3 separate regions of the Homo sapiens genome follow, and all the other regions are linked to region 3. The links are contacts of gene promoters, found by promoter capture Hi-C in blood cells and fetal thymus (Javierre and others, 2016). All regions are on one chromosome and are shown on one strand. Each heading gives the region's core, a stretch centred on a gene start or on the middle of the fragment in contact. The rest is flanking DNA. Distances are from core to core; before and after follow the strand shown.

Region 1 (3,258 bases), core at 529-3,028, 270 kb before region 3:
CACCAAGTCAAGAAGCTGGAGCTAAACTACTGACTCATAAGAGGCCAGTGTGAAAAGAGAGGTCATGCAGAGAAGAAATGAAGGACCCAGCCAATAGCTACCACTGACACCCTAGACATGTGAGTGAAGCCATCTTGAATCTTTCAGCCCTAGCCAAGCCAGTGCTGGTGATGTTCTTCTATATCTGTGTGACTGTCCAATATGGCAGTCACTAGCCACATACAGGGCTACTGAATCCTTGGAATGTGGCTAGGGCATCTGAAGAACTTCATTTTTAATTTCATTTTAACTTAAACTTTAAATAGCTAATGGCTACTTTCCAGGCCAGTGTAAAAGTCTGTTACCACTCAAGTCATCCAGCATAATCCCGCTAAAGCAACTGGGCACAGGGCAGCCAAAAATCATCTTAGCACCTGCCCTTTAGGGGCTATAAGTATATATACAGTGACAAGACAAGGCGGTGGAGAAGGATGCAGTGTAGCTCTGTCAGCCTTGTTTTTAAAAATGAAAGAAAAAATATCTCCCTCTAACATCACCCAAAGGGAAATTTCCAAGCAATGGAATATATCATGATTCTCACATCTAGCCTAGAGAGCTCCTGACTAGAAAAGTAACTTTCAAAAACTGTTTCCTCATCTGCTGAAAAACAAAATTTAAACAGTCCCCTGGTTCACTCTTTTTGGGGGGAGAAGGGGAGCAGAAAGGAAATATGAGAGAGTCTACATTGCATGCTAGACACGGCCACATTTATAATACATCGAATTCTCTTAATCCTTTTTTTTCAAACTAAGCGAACATAAGTTCAGAGAGGTAATTTGCCAAGGACCTATGACTAGTTAGTGCTAAAGATAAAATTCAAAACCAGGCCTCTGAATTTCCGACCCCCTACTCTTCCCACCACAGCGGAATGCCTCACCTATCAAAAATAAAAATTTCTAATGGCCTATTGAGCTTTTCCATGATCTCTTCACCTAAGTAACTATTTCCAATTAATGCCTTCTTAGCAGACTGATCCCATTTTTCCTCCCTTCACTTTCCTATACTTCTTTTTCCTCTAATTTTACCCATCCTTCAAACTCCATTTTAAACTTTTTTTTCCTTCCATAGAACTTTCCTTATCTTATCACAATTGCCCTCTCTGAATTTTTATATTACTTATAATAGGCACCATATAATATAGCGTTCTCTGTTACACTGCTTTTCCCTTAAATAGACCTTAATCTCCTTGAAGACAGAAGCTATCCTATGTCTTTGGGGAGTGGCAATCTTTCCAAATTTCTTTAGCTTTCCCCCAGAGCCGTGAGTAGATACTTCTGGAATGGACGAATGATCTAAACTCAATAGACAAATACTTGTTGATTCATTAAAGACAGCCCCAAACTCTGCTGTTTCACCCTTTGCTTCATAATCTACAGCACACCAATTAATCCAAAAGGGCTGAGGGGCTAATCCACACTGCAGCCCCGCCACGTAACGCTACCCGCCCGCGCTGTCACGCCACGCCCAGCCTGCTGGTTGCAGATTTGGCGTAGCCCAACCCTGGGACGGCCGATTGGGCGTGGTGTGCGTGGCTGAAGGCGTGGCTGAGAAGAGAAACCTACGCTTTGGGTCAGACTCGGTAGCTTCCGGTAATCTTCGACAATTTCCGGCAACGGTTTTCTCTCTCGTCGACCAACCTCGGGTATTTCCGACTCCCTTCGGGCTTTTCCGTCTGGTTCCCGCTCGGCTTTCTCCACTTCGGGTATTCCCGTGTCCCGCTCGGAAGCACTCGGCAATCGCTCGGCCTCCCCCATCCCCCGGTAACGGTCGCTGGTGAGTTTAAATGAGCAGGGGCTGGCCGGGCCGGAGCCGCTACAGGGGGGGCCTGAGGCACTGCAGAAAGTGGGCCTGAGCCTCGAGGATGACGGTGCTGCAGGAACCCGTCCAGGTAATGATAACCTTCTTCTCTGGGGCTTGGCTGGCAGCCTCGGTCGGGAAGCAGCAGCGTAGGGCCACTCCGCGGCCTGGTGCGGCCTAGGCCCGGCTGCTTCTCCCGCCTCCCCTGCTGCCGTGTCCTGCCTATCTTTAGTCAGTTCGGAGGCCTTGCCCACAGCCTAAGCCGTGTTACCTCTGGCCCTACATTACTTCACCCTTAGCGTGAGCGGCTTCGGCGAAAATAACCGCCTTTCCCGTCCGAGCCAACGTCCGGCCAGCCTTTCCTGTCAGTCCAGGGGCCTGGCTTGACTGGGGGTGGGAGATGAGGGGCCGAAAATGCACCCCAAGCGCTCTCTTGCCTAAAAGATGATCGAGAAGCACATTTGATCGGAGCTTGTGTGATCTTCGTGACGGTAGGGCAAGTTTACGGAGGTTTTTTTTATTTTGTCTTGTATGAGAGGGTGGAGGGAGCGTAGGATCGGTCTTTTTAATACTAATTTCTATTTTGGTAACAGACTTCCTATCCCACGTTTCCTTTCTCGGTGAATTTCCCACCGGACAATGATGGTTTGAGAAGACAACTCCAAGCCTCAGTGCTGAGGCGCAAGCACCAATACCAGGGGAGGAGGTGGAAAGGGCACATTTGGGTTGTTTTCATCCTCTCTGATGGGGATCAGGAGCATTTTGTTGTGCATGTTTATAAGGCATTCAGGAAATGAAACACAAATAATGGTGTTTCTGTCCATTTCACTGCCTTTACACCAGGGTATGCTTTGACGCACAGTGCTGTGTTGCATTAAAGGAACCCTATTGGATTTTAAGTGTGTGATGCGGTGCCAAGTCATTTTCCCCCCTGACATCTGGAGAAACTGTATCTTTTGTGCCTTGGTAATGGACCAGGTCTGGGAGACTTCATCCCACTATATGATCTTTAACTTGATCAGAATTGACCTCTATCAACTGCTGTCATTGAGTCATGGACTTTATTTTGAAGTTATAAAGCAAACTGATTTTTAGAAATTCCTTCATATTGCCCTTAAAAGGCTTGAGGTATCAAACAGTAAATATTTTAATATATCACTACTTTCATATTTATTTCATTTTTCTAAACAGCATGAAATACTCATTTCTTCTAGTTTGGTTTTTTTCTCCAGCTGTTTACATATAGCAGCTATTAGTGTTTGAATTAATAAAACGTAAGATTATATCTTATGAAATTTACCTGTCTGTAAGTTGTATTAGTTTTTCTAGAGCTATTTCCATCCAAATTCTTTTTACCAGTATAGTTTCTTTTAAGATTTTTTTTTATTCTGGCTGTAGATGAGGTAATTATATATATATAAT
Region 2 (3,720 bases), core at 927-3,426, 400 kb before region 3:
TTTGCCTTGTATTTGTATTTTTCATATGTATAGCTCCTATACCAACTATAGCCTAAATTTATAAAGAACTGGGACTGGTAACTTATCATTCTTAAAATTATTTCTCACAGTATCAAATACAATGGTATATATATAATGAAGGAAAGAGTAGAGGAAAGGAGGAATGGTATGGAGGGAGGGGAAAAGAGAGGGAGAGAGGGATGAATGAACAAATTCCCTTCCTACTAAGCTACTCACCAAGATTTCTTAAATCATCAAAGTGCTTAATTAAGCAGAGTTGACACGTTTTGAATAAATCTTGAAAGGAACAATTGTTCTGTAATTTATTGACGAGATTATCAAAAAGTTGGCAGGTCTTAATTTGCTGGATGAATCAGGTACCGCATAAGCCTCTCCAAACTTAAAAGAAAAAATTAACTTAGAAAGTCTATTCCCTGTAACTCTGACAATATAATTTTTCTCAACTATTTCAATCCTGTCTTCTATCGGTGAACTTGCAGGAACAAATCAAGAGAAATGGAGGGAGTCGTATCCCTTTTCTCCAGTCATCTATCCATTCACCTTTCTATCCATGAATTCAACGTATATGTCTGCATGCTTAGTGTGCACTAGGTTCTCTCCTAGGCTCTAGGGATATACCAATGAACAAAATATATATATGCTATATATATATATATATATATATATATATATATATATATTTTGTTTATATATATATAAAATCTGCCCTCATGAAGCTTATGTTCTAGTCAGGGAGTGAAATAATAAAATAGAAAAATAAAACATATTGTATGTTATCTGCAATAAGTACAAAAAAAAAAGTAAAGCAGGGAGGGGAATATGAAATGTAGTATAGGGGAAGAGATGCAGGGAACAGAATGGGTGGCCAAGGAAGACCTTACTGAGAGGGAGACTTTTGAGTACAGACCTGCAAGAACTGAAGTAGGGAGCTGATTAATATCTTAGGGAAGAGCATTTCAGCCAGAAAGAAAAGTAAGTACAAAAGCCCCGAGGCAAGAAGAATGTTCAAGGAATAGTGGGAAGGCCCCAGGAGGCTGAAGCAGGAGAGATCAGAGAGGCTAAGTGAAAGTGGCATATCATGGAGGACCCCTAGATGACAGTAAGAACTGTGGCTTGTACTCTGAAGGAGTGACAAGCATTGAAAGAGTTCTGAGGAGAAGGATTACATAATCTGAAGTTCTTTCTGAAAGGATCACTCTGGTTACTGTGAGGAGGGAAATCAGGTAGGTCTGGGTTCCTGAATGCCAAGTGAAGAAAGTACTTCAAGAGTGAGCAATCAGGCTGTGCATGGTGGCTTATGCAGGTAATCCCAACACTTTGATGCGGGGGTGGGGGTCTAAGCAGGAGGGCTGCTTAAGGCCAGGAGTTCAAGACCAGCCTGGGCAACAGTGAAACTCCCACCTCTACAGAATTTTTTTTTTAATCAGCTGGACATGGCGACCTTAGTCCCAGCTACTCCAAAGACTGAGCCAGGAGGATCTTTTGAGCCCAGGAGTTTGAAGCTGCAGTGGGCTATGATTGCACCACTGCACTCCAGCCTGGACGACAGAGACCTTGTCTCAAAAAAAAAAAAGGGGGGTGGGGTGGGCGGTTAAGATCAGTACTGAATGGTTCGCTAGGTTTCACAACACGGAGGACACTGACAAACTTGAAAGGAGCCATCTGGGTGGGGTGGTAAGGAGACAATGTCGTCAGAGTGAGTACAAGAGAGAACGGGGTAAAGAAATTGAACCCAGCCAGTAGGGTAGGCTCTTTCAAGGAGTTACGTTGTTAAGAGAAATAAGGCAGTAGCTGAGAGGAAAATGGGGCTGTGAGGCTTTAAGATGAGAAAAACAAAGGCGTCTTCACTGAAGCATGACTCTGTATGACATCCTTTCACAAAATACCTTCCTCTTTCCTCTCATGCCACATTTCCCTCACAAGCCGCCCGACTCGCTCGCTTTTCTCTCGCCAGAGGGACTGAAAACGTCATTAATACCAACTGCATACACAACTCCATTGCAGCTACTGCCATTCATGAACGTTCAAACTTTCGTCACCCTGTTTTCATATTTGTGTAACAAACGTCGAGTGAACGAACCTCCACCTCTTCCAAGAACCCACGCTGAGGAGGCTTCCCATAGACCCTGCTCTTACGAAGCCAACGACTTCTACAGGAAGAAAGAGGACCTGTAAGCTAGCGAGTGAACGACCCGCAAGATGGAAATGAGTGTGCTAATAGAGGTCTCCGCCTCCCGCTGAAGGAGCAGGGAAGTGACACCACCCCCGGGACCGCCAGCCTTCTACAACAACCACCATTTCTGAGGAACCACCTGATCAGTCTCAGTCACCCTTCAATCTGCCCCTTTGTCCCACTCAGTCCCCTCACTGTTCCTTTCTGGAACCTTCCTTCACCCAGCCCCACCACTGTTCTCCTTCCTCCCTCGCACCCTACTGCATTCTCCACCCTCCACCTCGAAGGCTCCCCTCCCAACTCCTCAGCGGGTCTCGCCTCCCCTCCCCACCTCTGTCCCCCAAGGGTCCCACTACCGGCCCGAGCTGCCCTCCCTTCCTCTCGGCTGGAGGCCCCCGCGCTCTCTGTGGTCAGCCCCTGCCGCCCCTCGGGCGGCGCTGCTCTAGCTCTGCAGCCTTCCCAGGATCCCGCGCCGCGCGGCCCCGCCCCCGCGGTCACCTGACCGAGCCCGACGCTCCGCCCACCGACCACCCCGAGCGGAGCGGGCCCAGGACCCTATCGGCTGTCGAGCCGGTGCTGCCGCGGCCACCGCCACCGCCCAGGGGCTCCGGGGCTGTGGGGAGCGGCTGAACTCAATACCGCCTCCGCGCTGACTGGAAGGCACTGCGGCCGCGCCTGCCTGCCCCACCTCGTAAGGGCCTGTGACCTCACGAGGCCAGCCGCCGGGCGCTGCATTCGAGCGGTGGGGCTCCTGTCCGTGCGCTTTCCTCCCGCAGCCCCGGCCGGGATTCCGCCCTCCGTCCTTGCCACCCGCTCGCCACTCTTCCCTAATCGCTGTTCATTCTCCGGTGCGCTGTCCCGCCATGGTCTGACCCCACTTCAATCTTACCTTCGGTCCGTCCTTTGAACACCCCGACCCCCGACCCCTTTCTTCCAAAACATTCCATCCTTCTTGGCTTCTGCTACTCAATAATGGACAGCAGCTCGAAGGCCATGTGTCCCACGGCTTTGCTGAAATTTGTCTCGGGTTGCCTTTAAGGAGACTGTCGTTTCCTTTTGAAAGAGATACTTTGGTTGGTTTGGTTTTCTTCTGTGTGTTTGTTTTTCCTATGTATTTATCGTATGCAGTTGGGCAAAATACTTAACGCTCCCTGAGTCTCGATTTTCTCATTCTTCCAGGGTTGTGGGAATTCAAAAATATATACGTAGTGCTCAATAAATGTTACAATATTTAATCCCTTCCGTGATACTACTGTGTTCATTTACATCTTAAACCTTGCTTTGTAGGCATTCTTTAATATTTTATTTAGATTTTTATTATTATTAAATATATGTACAAATCATAATTGTAAATATTTAATGGGGTACAATGTTATATTTTAATATATGTATACAATATGGAACGACTAAGTCAAGCTTAACATATCCATCACCTTGTTTAACGTTTTTTATGGTGAGACATTTGAAATTTACTCTTAGCAGTTTTGAGATATACGATATATTATTATTAGCTATAGTCACCACAC
Region 3 (3,631 bases), core at 267-2,766:
ATTTTCGCCTGTCCAAATGAAACACCTCATCGCCAAAATAAAAGAAACCCATAAACTTAGAAAATGAAAGAGAAAGAGGATCATCACCCTCTTATTCCTCATGCTTCAGGGCATTTCATTTCCAGGCCTTGGGAGTGTGATTTTAAGTGTTTTAATCAACAAAACTACAGCATAAGTTTGAAAGTTCTCAATAGGATAGGTATATACCTCAAAAAATTGAGAAGAGAAACTAAAACAGATACTTCTACACCAGAGTTCATAGCAGTATTATTCTCAACAGCCCAATGGTGGAAACAACTCAAGTGTCCATCAACAGATGAATGGATAACAAAATGTGGTAGACACATAAAACGGAATATTATTCCGTCATAAAACAGAATGAAATTCTGGTAACAGGCTACAATATAGATGAACCCTGAAAACATTAAGTGAAATAAGCCAGATACAAAAGGACAAATTCTGTATGACTCCACTTATATTAAGTATCTAGAATAGGTAAACTCATAGAGAGAAGTAAAACAGAGGTTACTAGGTGTTCTGGAAGGAAGAAATGAAGTGCTACTGATTAACAGGCACACTGGGATGATGAAAAAGTTCTGGAAATGGATCGTAGTGATGTAAGTTGTGAATGTACTCAATGTCACTGAATTGTACACTTAAAAATTGTTAAAACAGTAAATCTTATGTTGTGTATATTTTACAATAAAAAATAAAAATCATAAAATTCCGTCCCTCCAAAACAGGGTAAAAATCATAATTCTGCCCCCCGCCCCCAAAAATAGGGTAAGTATGGCCCCATTAATACTCAACTACGTATCTCAGCAATTCCGAAAGTGCAGGACGATGCGAATAAAGGACACTACCAAGGAATTTAAGTTATGAGAAACTAAATTACAATTTGATTTTCTTAGCGATAACCTGTAACCAGATACGATTAACAAGTAATAATAGTGAATGCTACGTGGACAGCAATTTCTTTGTACCATAAAAATGTGGTCTTTAGTATAAATCGAATAAGAATACAAATACTTTCCCGTACGTGCCCTGACTCTCCAATTAAACAGTACACTCCTACGGCCAGGGGCCGTGTCTCCTACTCCGTGTCTCCTCTCGAGGTCTACCAACCAGGAGCACCGAGTTGACAAGTGCTGGACAAAGTTTTATAACCTGCAGGTGCCAGTTTCCCGTCACCCAGTCTACCCAGCAGGTAGTCACGAACTTGCAGACCCCAGGAGTCATCTGCCCCACGTCTCCAGGCCCCAGCCTGAACCCACTGTCTGTGGCTGACCTGGGAGTCCCGCCAAGGATTAAGCACTTCGGAGGCATCCCCAGCAGTGCCCTGGCGGAAAAACTCGGCCTCTACCCTGGCTGACGTCCGAGGCCTCAGCCCCAGAAGCCAGGCTCACCTGGCCTCGCCTCGTCTAGCCCCTGCCCGCTCCCCGACCGGCCCTCACTTGTGCGTTTGCTGGAACAGGGGATCCATGTCGCCGGCCCCGCAGGCCACGGCTCCGGCTCTGGCTTCCTCGGAACACGTCCTCACAGCCCCCCTTCCGGTTTCCGGCTTCCGGTCGCAGGACCCTCCCTCCCCTGCCGGCCAGGGCTGCCCGCACGCGCGCCTTACTAGCAGTGGTTGCGAGATCGGAGAAGGGGAAGGAGAAATGAGGCCGGCGACGGAAGGATAAGTGTAGTCACAGGCTCGGCTTCACGTGAAGGGCAAGGCGGTGTACATGTTCGCTGAAGGCTAGCCTCAGGATTCAGTCAGGCGTTAGGAAGGACAATCGCGGGATACTAACGAGAGGTCCTCAGAGCAAAGTTGAAGGCGAGCCGCTATCATCTGCTGTTCTCTGCCGCAGAGAGGACTGGAGGTTCTTGCTTGGCTTCACTTTAAACCATTTAATCGGGGGTCTGGAGATTTCGCTCTTCACTGTTTTTCCTGGCGCAAGCTTTTCCTGTTTCGCATTTGTCTACTCACTCTCCCGCCTATCTACCCCCCATTCCTATTTATCCATCCAGTAAACCTACATTGAATGAGTGGTTATTATGTGTCATGTGTAAAGTAGGGAAAACCGGGTTCCTCCTGCCCTCAAAGAGGTTCTGGTCTGGGAAAGGAAATAAGATATGTATACTCTCAAAAGACAAAATTACAAGAAATGTAGTTATAGATTTTTTTTCTTTATTTTATTATTTTTTATTATTATACTTTAAGTTCTAGGGTACATGTGCACAACGTGCAGGGTTGTTACATATGTATACATGTGCCATGTTGGTGTGCTGCACCCATTAACTCGTCATTTACATTAGGTATATCTCCTAATGCTATCCCTTCCCCCTCTCCCCACCCCACAACAGGCCCCGAAGTGTGATGTCCCCCTTCCTGTGTCCAAGTGTTCTCATCGTTCAGTTCCCACCTATGAGTGAGAACATGTAATGTTTGTTTTTTTGTCCTTGCGATAGTTTGCTGAGAATGTTGGTTTCCAGCTTCATCCGTGTCCCTACAAAGGACATGAACTCATCATTTTTTATGGCTGCATAGTATTCCATGGTGTATATATGCCACATTTTCTTAATCCAGTCTGTCATTGTTGGACATTTGGGTTGGTTCCAGGTCTTTGCTATTGTGAATAGTGCTGCAATAAACATACATGTAAATGTGTCTTTATAGCAGCATGATTTATAATCCTTTGGGTATATACCCAGTAATGGGATGGCTGGGTCAAATGGTATTTCTAGTTCTAGATCCCTGAGAAATCTCCACACTGTCTTCCACAATGGTTGAACCAGTTAACAGTCCCACCAACAGTGTAAAAGTGTTCTTATTTCTCCACATCCTCTCCAGCAGCTGTTGTTTCCTGACTTTTTAATGGTCGCCATTCTAACTGGTGTGAGATGGTATCTCATTGTGGTTTTGATTTGCATTTCTCTGATGGCCAGTGATGATGAGCATTTTTTCATGTGTCTGTTGGCTGCATAAATGTCTTCTTTTGAGAAGTGTCTGTTCATATCCTTCGCCCACTTGTTGATGGGGTTGTTTGTTTTTTTCTTGTAAATTTGTTTGAGTTCATTGTAGATTCTGGATATTAGCTCTTTGTCAGATGAGTAGATTGCAAAAATTTTCTCCCATTCTGTAGGTTGCCTGTTCACTCTGATGGTAGTTTCTTTTGCTGTGCAGAAGCTCTTTAGTTTAATTAGATCCCATTTGTCAATTTTGGCTTTCGTTGTCATTGCTTTTGGTGTTTTAGACATGAAGTCCTTGCCCATGCCTATGTCCTGAATGGTATTGCCTAGGTTTTCTTCTAGGGTTTTTATGGTTTTAGGTCTAACATGTAAGTCTTTAATCCATCTTGAATTGATTTTTGTATAAGGTGTAAGGAAGGGATCCAGTTTCAGCTTTCTACATATGGCTAGCTAGTTTTCCCAGCACCATTTCAAAAACGATGGTTAGATCCCACGAAGTAGGTGGTAATGCCTTAACCGTATGCGTGTTGTCAGGCCCAAGGGCCTCTTCCATCCTTGTCAAAGGGAGTGCTAACCTTCTCTCCTTTAATACAACACAGTTACAGATCTTAACTGGCTATTTGCGATTCTAGCACCAGGCAACACCTTATTCTATAAAATAGAATGAGTATTCTGA

Evidence for each region. The method cuts DNA at HindIII sites, captures the fragments that hold promoters and counts their contacts. A CHiCAGO score of 5 or more calls a contact.
Region 1: the fragment with the promoter of CDC27 here is called in contact with the fragment with the promoter of GOSR2 in region 3 in 13 of 17 cell types (naive CD8 T cells, activated CD4 T cells, naive B cells and 10 more); the score reaches 11.7 in naive CD8 T cells.
Region 2: a contact is called between a fragment that was not itself captured here and the fragment with the promoter of GOSR2 in region 3, in 2 of 17 cell types (total CD8 T cells and total B cells). The highest score is 7.0, in total CD8 T cells.

What each region holds. Positions count from the first base shown.
Region 1 is chr17:47,187,815-47,191,072 of GRCh38, reverse strand. It overlaps CDC27 (cell division cycle 27), which reads left to right and starts at 1,778. Exons shown (of 19, transcript NM_001256.6): 1 at 1,778-1,927. The coding sequence starts at 1,901. It also overlaps a transcript of MYL4 not described here. RefSeq lists enhancers at 1,854-2,043, 1,574-2,170 and a silencer at 2,204-2,253. The HindIII fragment of the contact is 9,297 bases long and covers 1-3,258 here.
Region 2 is chr17:47,322,905-47,326,624 of GRCh38, reverse strand. EFCAB13 (EF-hand calcium binding domain 13) reads right to left here and starts at 2,670. Exons shown (of 25, transcript NM_152347.5): 1 at 2,551-2,670; 2 at 2,102-2,171; 3 at 238-399. It overlaps EFCAB13-DT (EFCAB13 divergent transcript), which reads left to right and starts at 2,724. Exons shown (of 3, transcript NR_110880.1): 1 at 2,724-2,936. RefSeq lists enhancers at 1,882-2,061, 2,102-2,191 and a silencer at 2,532-2,941. The HindIII fragment of the contact is 2,873 bases long and covers 740-3,612 here.
Region 3 is chr17:46,921,045-46,924,675 of GRCh38, reverse strand. It overlaps GOSR2 (golgi SNAP receptor complex member 2), which reads right to left and starts at 1,516. Exons shown (of 6, transcript NM_004287.5): 1 at 1,455-1,516. The coding sequence starts at 1,483. It overlaps GOSR2-DT (GOSR2 divergent transcript), which reads left to right and starts at 1,805. Exons shown (of 3, transcript NR_186460.1): 1 at 1,805-1,865. It also overlaps a transcript of LRRC37A2 not described here and the pseudogene RNU6ATAC3P. RefSeq lists an enhancer at 816-1,540. The HindIII fragment of the contact is 7,846 bases long and covers 1-1,945 here.